Regions from separate parts of the Homo sapiens genome. Here region 1 is linked to region 2. The links are contacts of gene promoters, found by promoter capture Hi-C in blood cells and fetal thymus (Javierre and others, 2016). All regions are on one chromosome and are shown on one strand. Each heading gives the region's core, a stretch centred on a gene start or on the middle of the fragment in contact. The rest is flanking DNA. Distances are from core to core; before and after follow the strand shown.

Region 1 (5,093 bases), core at 1,028-3,527, 44 kb after region 2:
GGACTTAGGTGCAATTAATTTATTTAAAAAGTTATCTAGAGAAGCACCAGTGAGGAAGTGTGGAAACTGAGAAAAAGAAGGGAGAAACATCAATAAATTAAAAATTATTATTTTAATAAGCAGATTACCATTGTGAATACATGGGCCTCAATCTTGCTAGGGAACTCTATGAGGAACTGTGTGGAACATACTGTAGAATTGTCCCATCAAAGAACCAGAAAGTTAGTGGTAGACTGATCTCACCTTCCATCTTTCATTGAGTGTTAACCCTAAGGGCATTAAATTTCTGGAAATTCCAGATTGCAATGTGAATGGGCAGAGCAAGCTCCTATGGCATCAGAGAAATCCCTCCCAGGAAGAGAAGTAGAAAGACAAAAGTGCTTGACATGATGTATTAGTCAATTTTCACACTGTTGATAAAGACATACCTGAAACTAGGGAGCAAAAGAGGTTTAATTGGACTTACAGTTCCACATGGCTAGGGAGGCCTCAGAATCATGGCAGTAGGTGAAATGCACTTCCTACATGGCAGCGGCAAGAGAAAATGAGAGAGATGCAAAAGTGGAAATCCCTGATAAAACCATCAGATCTCATGAGACTTATTCACTACGACCAGAACAGTAGGAGGGAAACTGCCCTCATGATTCAATTATCTCCCACCAGGTCCCTCCCACAACACGTGGGAATTATGGGAGTACAATTCAAGATGAGATTTGAGTGGGGACACAGCCAAACCATATCACAAGAGAAGCTGCTGTAAGCTTGCTAAAAAGTTTTCATTGAACTGCAGGTAAACTCTGAGGTGGGCCAAGGGAATATAGGACAGGCATCAATAGCATCTGCTATACTGCTGCATTTGGTTGTACAAGCAAAGGGTTGAGAAGTAGCTGTGGAAGGAAGGTTCAGCATTCCAGTGTCACCAGGAGCAACAGCCAGATTGAGTGTTCCTGTATCTAGGAGCAACTGTGTGGGTATTGAGAGGTGGTAGCAACAGTAGAAGTGGCCTACTAACCCTGGGTCACAGGTGTAGCAAGTTGTTCTTGGAACTCAATAGTTCCTGAGTTCCACTTATCCACACATTCCAATGATGCTATAAAAATCTAATTATCTCTGTTAAATATTTTTCTGCTTAAACTGATTAGAGTTGTTTTTGTTATGTGCCCTGAGCCCCAAAAATATATTTTGTACCAGAATTTGCAGGCAACAAACACCGAAGAATGAAATTTAGGATAGATTATATGACCTAGATAGATCAAAGGCAATGATAGTCCCATATCCTCTAGAAAATAAGATATTGGTAGTCCCTGGTAAGCAACAGCAAAACATTTACTCAGGTTATCACTTGTGTTTGTCTGGAATTAATTGCTTATTGAAGGTAATTCTCTGGTAAGCAAAGTGGCTGGTGTACCAAAGCATTATGGTGGGGAAGAGAAAGGTTCAGGGGATGTGGTGATTACTTTTGACTGCAATCGAGAATTCAATTAAAGAAAATAACGAACTTAGGGTTTTAAAATTCTTGGGTCAGGAAAGATATGAAAATCAAATATTTTAATGATTGCTTTAAAAACATCTCTTTTATCCCACGGCTACAGGACTACATAGATAAAAATCAGACAAAAAGTCTGATTCTTCAGGTTGATAAATAATTACAAAGTTGAATTCACAACCACTGCATGTTTTTTAATGAAATTGCTAGAGCATTGATCCAGAAAGAGTAGTATCCTTAGAATGGGAATGGGGACAGCTAGGTGAATTCAGATGTGATTGTATCTTGAATCCCCAAACCAATTGAGCCCTTTTTTATCCCAGCAGAAGCAAACTCATTTTCCTTTTTAATAAGACTGTCCTCTTTGCATGCATAGTCTGTAATGACCTCAGCTGAGACAGTTACATTGCAAAGGGTTGCTAATTTTCTCCATGCCCTTCATTTGCCAACTCTCATTGCCTCTAGACCTCTAATTAGATTCATATCCTAGCATGTTCAATGGGGACAAGCACAAAGCCAGTCCCAATATTAGAAGGCATATATACTGAAAGAATTGCATAATTTTGCTAACTACATCACAGAAACCTTAGGAATATGTTTGAGAACTGAGTATGCTATAACAGAAAACAAAGAAAAAACCTTTAGATTGAGTTGAATTTAGGTGGGTTCGTTTGCCAGAGATTCTGAATTCAGTGTTCAAGCTTTCACATGATTATCTCTAATAGTTCTTTTGGTCAGCTGACTCAATTCAATGACAGCCACAATTTAACAAAGGAAATTAAGATGCTAATAATGCCTTAGGATAATGTTATCCAGCAAAAGGGACTCACTACCTGATATGCTAGAAGCCAATAATATGACACTGCATTTTTGAGAAAAGAAAAGCTTTATATTGAAAGTCTTTGTTATAGCAACAAACACACAAAGGAAAGAAAATGGATTCCCAAGGAGACAGGAGTAAACGTCAAGTGTCTTCCCATGCTGGCTTTCAGGCAGTAATTTTGTTAGAAATGCTTTACGGGGCTGGGCGTGGTGGCTCACGCCTGTAATCCCAACACTTTGGGAGGCCGAGGCGGGTGGATTACCTAAGGTTAGGAGTTTGAGACCAGCCTGGCCAACATGGTGAAACCCTGCCTCTACTAAAAATACAAAAATTAGCCAGGCGTGGTGGCGTGCGCCTGTAATCCCAGCTACTCAGGAGGCTGAGGCAGGAGAATCACTTGAACCCGGGAGGTGGAGGTTGCAATGGGCGGAGATCACACCACGGCACTCCAGCCTGGGCGATTGAGTAAGACTCCGTCTCAAAAAAAAAAAAAAAAAAAGAAACAAAGGAAGAAAAGAAAAAGAAAAGATTTAGGGGGCAGATTCTGAGAGCGGTGATTAGCGGAAGGAAAGGGGAGGCATGGGAAGTCCTTGGGCATGTGCACTTACCTCTTCATGCCTCCGCAAGGGTCTTTGTGCGAATTCGGGGGAGTTAGTATGAAACCTGTGGTGGAAACTCAGGCTGCGATCTCAGCAAGCTCATTCTGTGCAAACTCCATTTATCTATCTAGGTTACAACCGATTTCAGCCAGTTCATTTCTTTTAAGCAGAGGGAGTCTCAGTGTTTCAGCAAGTTGTTTCTTATCTGCCATTATGAAAACTCAAGAATTTCTGTTAGTTACTGGTTTCTTTAACTCTTTGGGGCACAGTTTCAATAGTGTAGAGGAAAAAAAAACAAAAACAAAAAAAAAAAACAAAGACTCAGGAAAATAAATCTCTATTTTTTTTTCTTTTTTCTTTTTTTTTTTTGAGACGGAGTCTGGCTCTTTCGTTTCGCCCAGGCCGGACTGCAATGGCGCTATCTCGGCTCACTGCAAGCTCCGCCTCCCGGGTTCACGCCATTCTCCTGCCTCAGCCTCCCGAGTAGCTGGGAAAATAAATCTCTATTTTTATTCTTGCCCTAGGTATCACAAATGTTAGGGGTGCTCCTGCTCCTCTGAGAGTCATACAAGGTTCTAATTATCTCACCATCCCATAGGACATCACATTTTTCCAGCACGCTAATGGGATCATGCTGATTGTACCTCTTCAATAGCAAGTAACATGTGCCCTAGATGCCTTCGTAAGACGTATGTATGGCAGAAGAGGAGATAAGTAAGCCCCACAACAATTTAAGGAACTGTCCTCTCTGAAGTTTTGGGGGATTCAGAAATCTAGGGCATGTTAAGATATTTCCAAGAAAGTGAAAAACAAGTTGCTGCTGCCCTTCCTACACTCCCTACCATGAAGAAAAAGGCAAACTTGGTGAGCCTCTTGATTTTGGAGGCAACATGTTATCTTTTGGCATCCTTCTCTGATCTTTTTGCTGAGTCACTGTTAAGGCTGCCAGCTTTAAACTGAACTCCAAATCAAAGAAGGCTCTACAGGTACTCCAGAATGCATTAAGAACAGGAACACCACTTGGGAGTTATGACTCAGCAGATAAAATTATGTTTAACGCTGGGCGCAGTGGCTCATGCCTGTAATCCCAGCACTTTCGGAGGCCGAGGCAGGTGGATCACTTGAGGTCAGGAGTTTGAGAATAGCCTGGCCAACATAGTGAAACCCCATCTCTACTAAAAATAAAAAAAATTAGACAGGTGTGGTGGCACAGGCCTGTAATCCCAGCAACTCGGAAGGCTGAAGCACGAGAATTGCTTGAACCCAGGAGGCAGAGGTTGCAGTGAGCCGGTATCACACCACTGAACTCCAACCTGGGCGACAGAGCAAGACGCTGTCTGAAAAAATAAATTATGTTTAAAGTGTCTACTATAGCAGAATGTTATATGAAGCCCAAGACATTCCCTAACAAGAGAATTACAGCGTGGGCCTCTGGGATTTGGAACATAGTCCTACCTTTTCAGTAAATAACTATTATCCTGTTAAGAAATAGATCATTCTCCAAGCAGTTCCTCATATGATACTTGTTAATTACAAAGATATTGTTATAATATTTATTAATTACAGACGGCAAACAGTAACTTTACAGTGGAGACAAACTCTTTATCAAATAACCAAAGTTAACATCTCCAGTATGAAACATTAACCTGACATATCTCCTGATATGACGACTGCACATCATTTCTGTATTATTCTTGCCAAAAATGTACTACCAAAATTTAGTCATAAGGAAATATCAGACAAACCCAAATTAAGAGACATTTAACCAATAGCTTGCCAGCACTCTTAAAAAGTGTTAAGGTCATAGAAGCTAAAGAAAGACTGGAAAATTGTCCTAGATTGGAAGAAGTTAAGGAGAAGTTAATGACCGATTCCTAGACCGGAAAAAGGACATTAGTGGAACAATTGGCAAAATTTGAATAAAGTCTACAGGTTAGTTAATTGTATCAATGATAATTTCTTACATTGAGGATAAGATGTTAACTTTTGAGGAAGCTGTGAGGGAAGGACAAATGGAAACTCATACTATTTTTAAAAATGTTTTGGGTCTTAAATTATTTTAAAATTTAAAACTTTTTTTAATGTTTTTGGAGCTTCTAGATAGCTGCACATGTGGAGGCTTCTAGAGGGTAGTGCTCCCACAAAGGTCATGGAAGCTCCTCACCCCTTTCCCCATACCTCTATG
Region 2 (5,115 bases), core at 725-3,224:
AGCCTCTTTTATACTTATTTGACACACTTTTGCTTGGTTATCCTAGAGCATTCATGGTGTGTATATATATATATATATATATATATATGGTGATTGAAACCATGAATGCTATATATATATATATGCTATATATATGCTCTCTGTATATATGCTATATATATGCTCTCTCTCTATATATATGCTATATATATGCTCTCTCTCTCTGTCTCTCTCTGTCTCTCTCTATATATATACATATATACACACCACAGTTCATATTGCCAGCTCAGATTTATTTCCTATGCTTTGGTTATATGCAAACACACACACACACACCCCACCACCACGCAAACACACATCCTACAGGCACTTACCTCAATATCAGCATGTTCAAAACTGAACACTTCATCTTTTTCCACCCCAATCATGTTTTTTTTTAGCATTCCCTGTCCTAGTGAATGACACCACTAGTCATCCAGATGCCCAGTCCAGAGGTGTGATATCATCTCTGAGTCTTTCCCATTTTTCTCCCCATGCAACCTATCAACCAACAGTTGAAAACATTTCATCTCCTCATACCTTTCTATTCATCCCTCTTCTCTCCATCCACACTGGCATTATCCTCATCCAGATCATCATCTCTTATCTGATCTCCTTGATTCTCCAGTCACTCCCCCTGAAATTAATTCTCCATACTGCAGCCAAACTGATTTTTTAAAATGCAGATGTAATCATGTTAATCAGATATTTAAAACCCATCTTTGTACTTGAATTACCTTTAGGATAAATTCAAGAATGCATGATATGACCTGTATAATGATTCATGTTCTCACCATGCTTTTAACCCTAATTTCATTGTTAGACCCTCCCCTTCCATAGTTTTTAAAGTCCAAGGCATACTTCATTTCTCTGTGTTCCTCAAAATGCCCATCTGAAATATTCCTCCTTCTCCTGGCTAGTTCCTTCAGATCACAATGTATTTTTCATTACCTCAGGAAAGCTTTCACTGATGTCCCAAGTCCGACTTTGATCTTAATTATTTTATTTTTGACAGACACTTAACCAGCACTTACAAACCACTTTGTAAATATTAATTCATTAGATGCCTACGATAATAATCATAGGAGACAAATATTATTACCCCATTTTACAGGTGAGGAAACAAAGGTATCTATAACTTGCCCAAGCTTATAGATAGTAAGTCACATAACCAGGATTCTAATATTGATAATTTGGTTCCAGATCCCATATTCCCAAGCACTAAGGTATGCAGCCTCCTAGGTACAAGAAGTCTTTTCTAGGTATTTCTATATTACTTTTTATAAATGCATACATTATGACATACTTCGTTTACTTGTCTGCCAATTTTTCTAGCTTGTGAGCTCTGTAAGAGCAAGAATTATCTCTAACTTATTTGTGCCATGTCCTTCTTTATATTTTTAAAATATAAAAGTGAAAAAAGTAATGATATTACCAACTATAGCTGACAACAAGTATTTACAAGAGTGAAGGAGATAATATATTTGTAATTACTCGAGAAATGACTTAAATAAAAAATTATTTCTTCAGTTCAGAATATTTTAACAGATCCTTTAGTGCCGAGCATTCAAAACAGTGATAATGCAGTGTATGGACTTTTCTGGATTCAAATTCAAACAAACCAACAGCAAAGGACATTTTGGAGAGAACTGGGGAAAACCAAATGCAGTATAAATTACACCAAGGAATTATTGCTCAAGTTGTTGATTGTGAACGTTTTATTACAATTATCTTTTAGAAGGCCTTACCTATTAAAAATACTTAGTGAAGTATTTAAAGGAAAAAAAATGATGTCTGGGATTTGTTTCGAATGTTCCGGATGTATTTATGAATTACTTTTTCAAAGAGGAAAACTTTTTTAATGAAAAAAAAAACATGGAGACACATGGTGGCGCTACAGGATAAGACGAAAACAGTACATAGGCTGGCACGGTGAGCTTCGCTATTCAGGAGAACAGAAAGCATCCAACCCACTGAAAAGACAGGCATTAAAGGAGCTTCGCCTACAGAGCTGCTGGAGGATACACTCTCCAGGGGGTTCCTGTTAAAAACCAGAGCTTCAGCTTCCAAAATTACGGCTGAGCTTCAGTTTTTCCACAAGAGATTGCCTAAAGGAACCATGGAGATCAGAGGGGCACTCGATCTGCGAAAAAGGCAAGTTCTAATATTCCTTGTTTTGCTGGGATTGTCTCGGGCAGGTACTGAATCTGCACACTATTCTGTGGCAGAGGAAACAGAAATTGGCTCTTTTGTGGCTAATCTAGCGAGGGACCTAGGGCTGGGGGTGGAGGAGCTGTCTTCACGTGAAGCCCGGGTAGTGTCTGATGATAATAAAAAGTATTTGCACCTTGATTTGCTGACTGGGAATTTGCTCCTAAATGAGAAACTAGACCGAGACGAGCTGTGTGGCTCCACCGAGCCCTGTGTGCTGCATTTTCAGGTGGTTTTGGAAAACCCTTTACAGTTTTTTCGGTTTGAGCTGTGTGTCAAAGACATAAATGATCACTCCCCTACATTTCTAGACAAGGAAATACTTATTAAAATATCAGAAGGTACCACTGTTGGAGCTACCTTTCTAATGGAGAGTGCTCAAGATTTGGATGTCGGAAGCAACAGTCTCCAAAACTACACAATTAGCCCCAATTCTCACTTCTACATTAAAATTCCCGACAGTAGTGACAGAAAGATATACCCAGAGCTGGTCCTAGATAGAGCTTTAGATTATGAACAGGAAGCTGAACTCAGATTAACACTCACAGCAGTGGATGGTGGATCCCCGCCCAAGTCTGGGACAACTTTGGTTCTCATCAAGGTGTTGGACATCAATGATAATGCCCCTGAGTTTCCTCAGAGTCTCTATGAGGTGCAAGTCCCCGAGGACAGACCCCTTGGCTCCTGGATTGCCACCATCTCAGCTAAGGATCTGGATGCAGGAAACTATGGAAAAATATCTTACACATTTTTCCATGCATCAGAAGATATTCGTAAAACATTTGAAATTAATCCAATATCTGGGGAAGTTAATTTGAGATCACCCCTGGATTTTGAAGTAATACAGTCCTACACTATAAATATTCAGGCAACAGATGGTGGGGGTCTTTCAGGAAAATGCACCCTTCTAGTTAAAGTTATGGATATAAACGACAACCCACCAGAAGTGACCATATCGTCGATTACAAAGAGAATTCCAGAGAATGCCTCAGAGACCCTAGTAGCTCTTTTTAGTATCCTAGACCAAGACTCTGGAGACAATGGGAGGATGATTTGCTCTATTCAAGATAACCTCCCTTTTTTCCTGAAACCGACCTTCAAGAACTTTTTCACTCTAGTTTCTGAAAAAGCACTGGACAGAGAGAGCCAAGCCGAGTACAACATCACGATCACCGTCACAGACTTGGGGACACCCAGGCTGAAAACCGAGTACAACATAACCGTGCTGCTCTCTGACGTCAATGACAACGCCCCCACCTTCACCCAAACCTCCTACACCCTGTTCGTCCGCGAGAACAACAGCCCCGCCCTGCACATCGGCAGCGTCAGCGCCACAGACAGAGACTCAGGCACCAACGCCCAGGTCAACTACTCGCTGCTGCCGCCCCAGGACCGGCACCTGCCCCTCGCCTCCTTGGTCTCCATCAACGCGGACAATGGCCACCTGTTTGCCCTCAGGTCGCTGGACTACGAGGCCCTACAGGAGTTCGAGTTTCGCGTGGGCGCCACAGACCGCGGGTCCCCGGCGTTGAGCAGCGAGGCGCTGGTGCGCGTGCTGGTGCTGGACGCCAACGACAACTCGCCCTTCGTGCTGTACCCGCTGCAGAACGGCTCCGCGCCCTGCACCGAGCTGGTGCCCCGGGCGGCCGAGCCGGGCTACCTGGTGACCAAGGTGGTGGCGGTGGACGGCGACTCGGGCCAGAACGCCTGGCTGTCGTACCAGCTGCTCAAGGCCACGGAGCCCGGGCTGTTCGGCGTGTGGGCGCACAATGGCGAGGTGCGCACCGCCAGGCTGCTGAGCGAGCGCGACGCGGCCAAGCACAGGCTGGTGGTGCTGGTCAAGGACAATGGCGAGCCTCCTCGCTCGGCCACCGCCACGCTGCACGTGCTCCTGGTGGACGGCTTCTCCCAGCCCTACCTGCCGCTCCCTGAGGCGGCCCCGGCCCAGGCCCAGGCCGACTCCCTCACCGTCTACCTGGTGGTGGCATTGGCCTCGGTGTCGTCGCTCTTCCTCTTCTCGGTGCTCCTGTTCGTGGCGGTGCGGCTGTGCAGGAGGAGCAGGGCGGCCTCGGTGGGTCGCTGCTCGGTGCCCGAGGGTCCCTTTCCAGGGCATCTGGTGGACGTGAGCGGCACCGGGACCCTGTCCCAGAGCTACCAATACGAGGTGTGTCTGACAGGAGGTTCCGGGACAAATGAGTTCAAATTTCTGAAGCCGATTATCCCCAATTTTCAAGTTCATGACACTGGTAGGAATATGGGGGAAATCGAGAACTTTCGAAATAGCTTTGGACTTAACATTCAATAAAACAATTTATTTTAAATGTCTAATTTTTGGTTATTCTTGGCAAGCTGATGGTACTTTTTGCATAATCTTTTGTGGATTCTTGGTTGTACTGTAGTTGCATGCATGATTATAGCTCTTGTTTTTCTCACAGTTTCTTTAAAAATCTTTATTAGTGGCTATAATGACGTGGAAATGTAATCTGTGTTTTCTGGTTTTTCATTTATTTGGCCAAAATGTTATATTAATGGAGTTATTGCTATTTTTGCTGTGATAATGGTATTATGCAAGACCATATTCTCAATTATTTGGATATGCAAACTAAAGTATTAAGAGCTAATGTCATTATATATGTAACTTAAATCTAGACACCATCAAAGCATAAAATAAAAATAAAAAGCGTTGCTGAATCTGGGTCGAAAATGTAGTGCGTTTATCCCACTATTCTCTCTGAAAATGTTCTTTAGAAAGGGTAACAAAGATGCTATCCCTCCATTTTCAGTTCTGGAGAACCTTATTAGTTTTTCAAATATTTACTTTATGATGAAACTTAAGTGGTCACATTGGAAATTATTAATTTCTTAAGTAATTTTTTCTGTAACTGC

Evidence for each region. The method cuts DNA at HindIII sites, captures the fragments that hold promoters and counts their contacts. A CHiCAGO score of 5 or more calls a contact.
Region 1: a contact is called between a fragment that was not itself captured here and the fragment with the promoter of PCDHB14 in region 2, in 3 of 17 cell types (M1 macrophages, M0 macrophages and M2 macrophages). The highest score is 8.2, in M1 macrophages.

What each region holds. Positions count from the first base shown.
Region 1 is chr5:141,265,552-141,270,644 of GRCh38, forward strand. It overlaps LOC105378199 (a long non-coding RNA gene), which reads right to left and starts at 3,207. Exons shown (of 2, transcript XR_001742473.1): 1 at 2,918-3,207. The HindIII fragment of the contact is 184 bases long and covers 2,186-2,369 here.
Region 2 is chr5:141,221,369-141,226,483 of GRCh38, forward strand. It overlaps PCDHB14 (protocadherin beta 14), which reads left to right and starts at 1,975. Exons shown (of 1, transcript NM_018934.4): 1 at 1,975-5,115. The coding sequence starts at 2,138. The coding sequence ends at 4,534. It also overlaps PCDHB@. The HindIII fragment of the contact is 16,360 bases long and covers 1,165-5,115 here.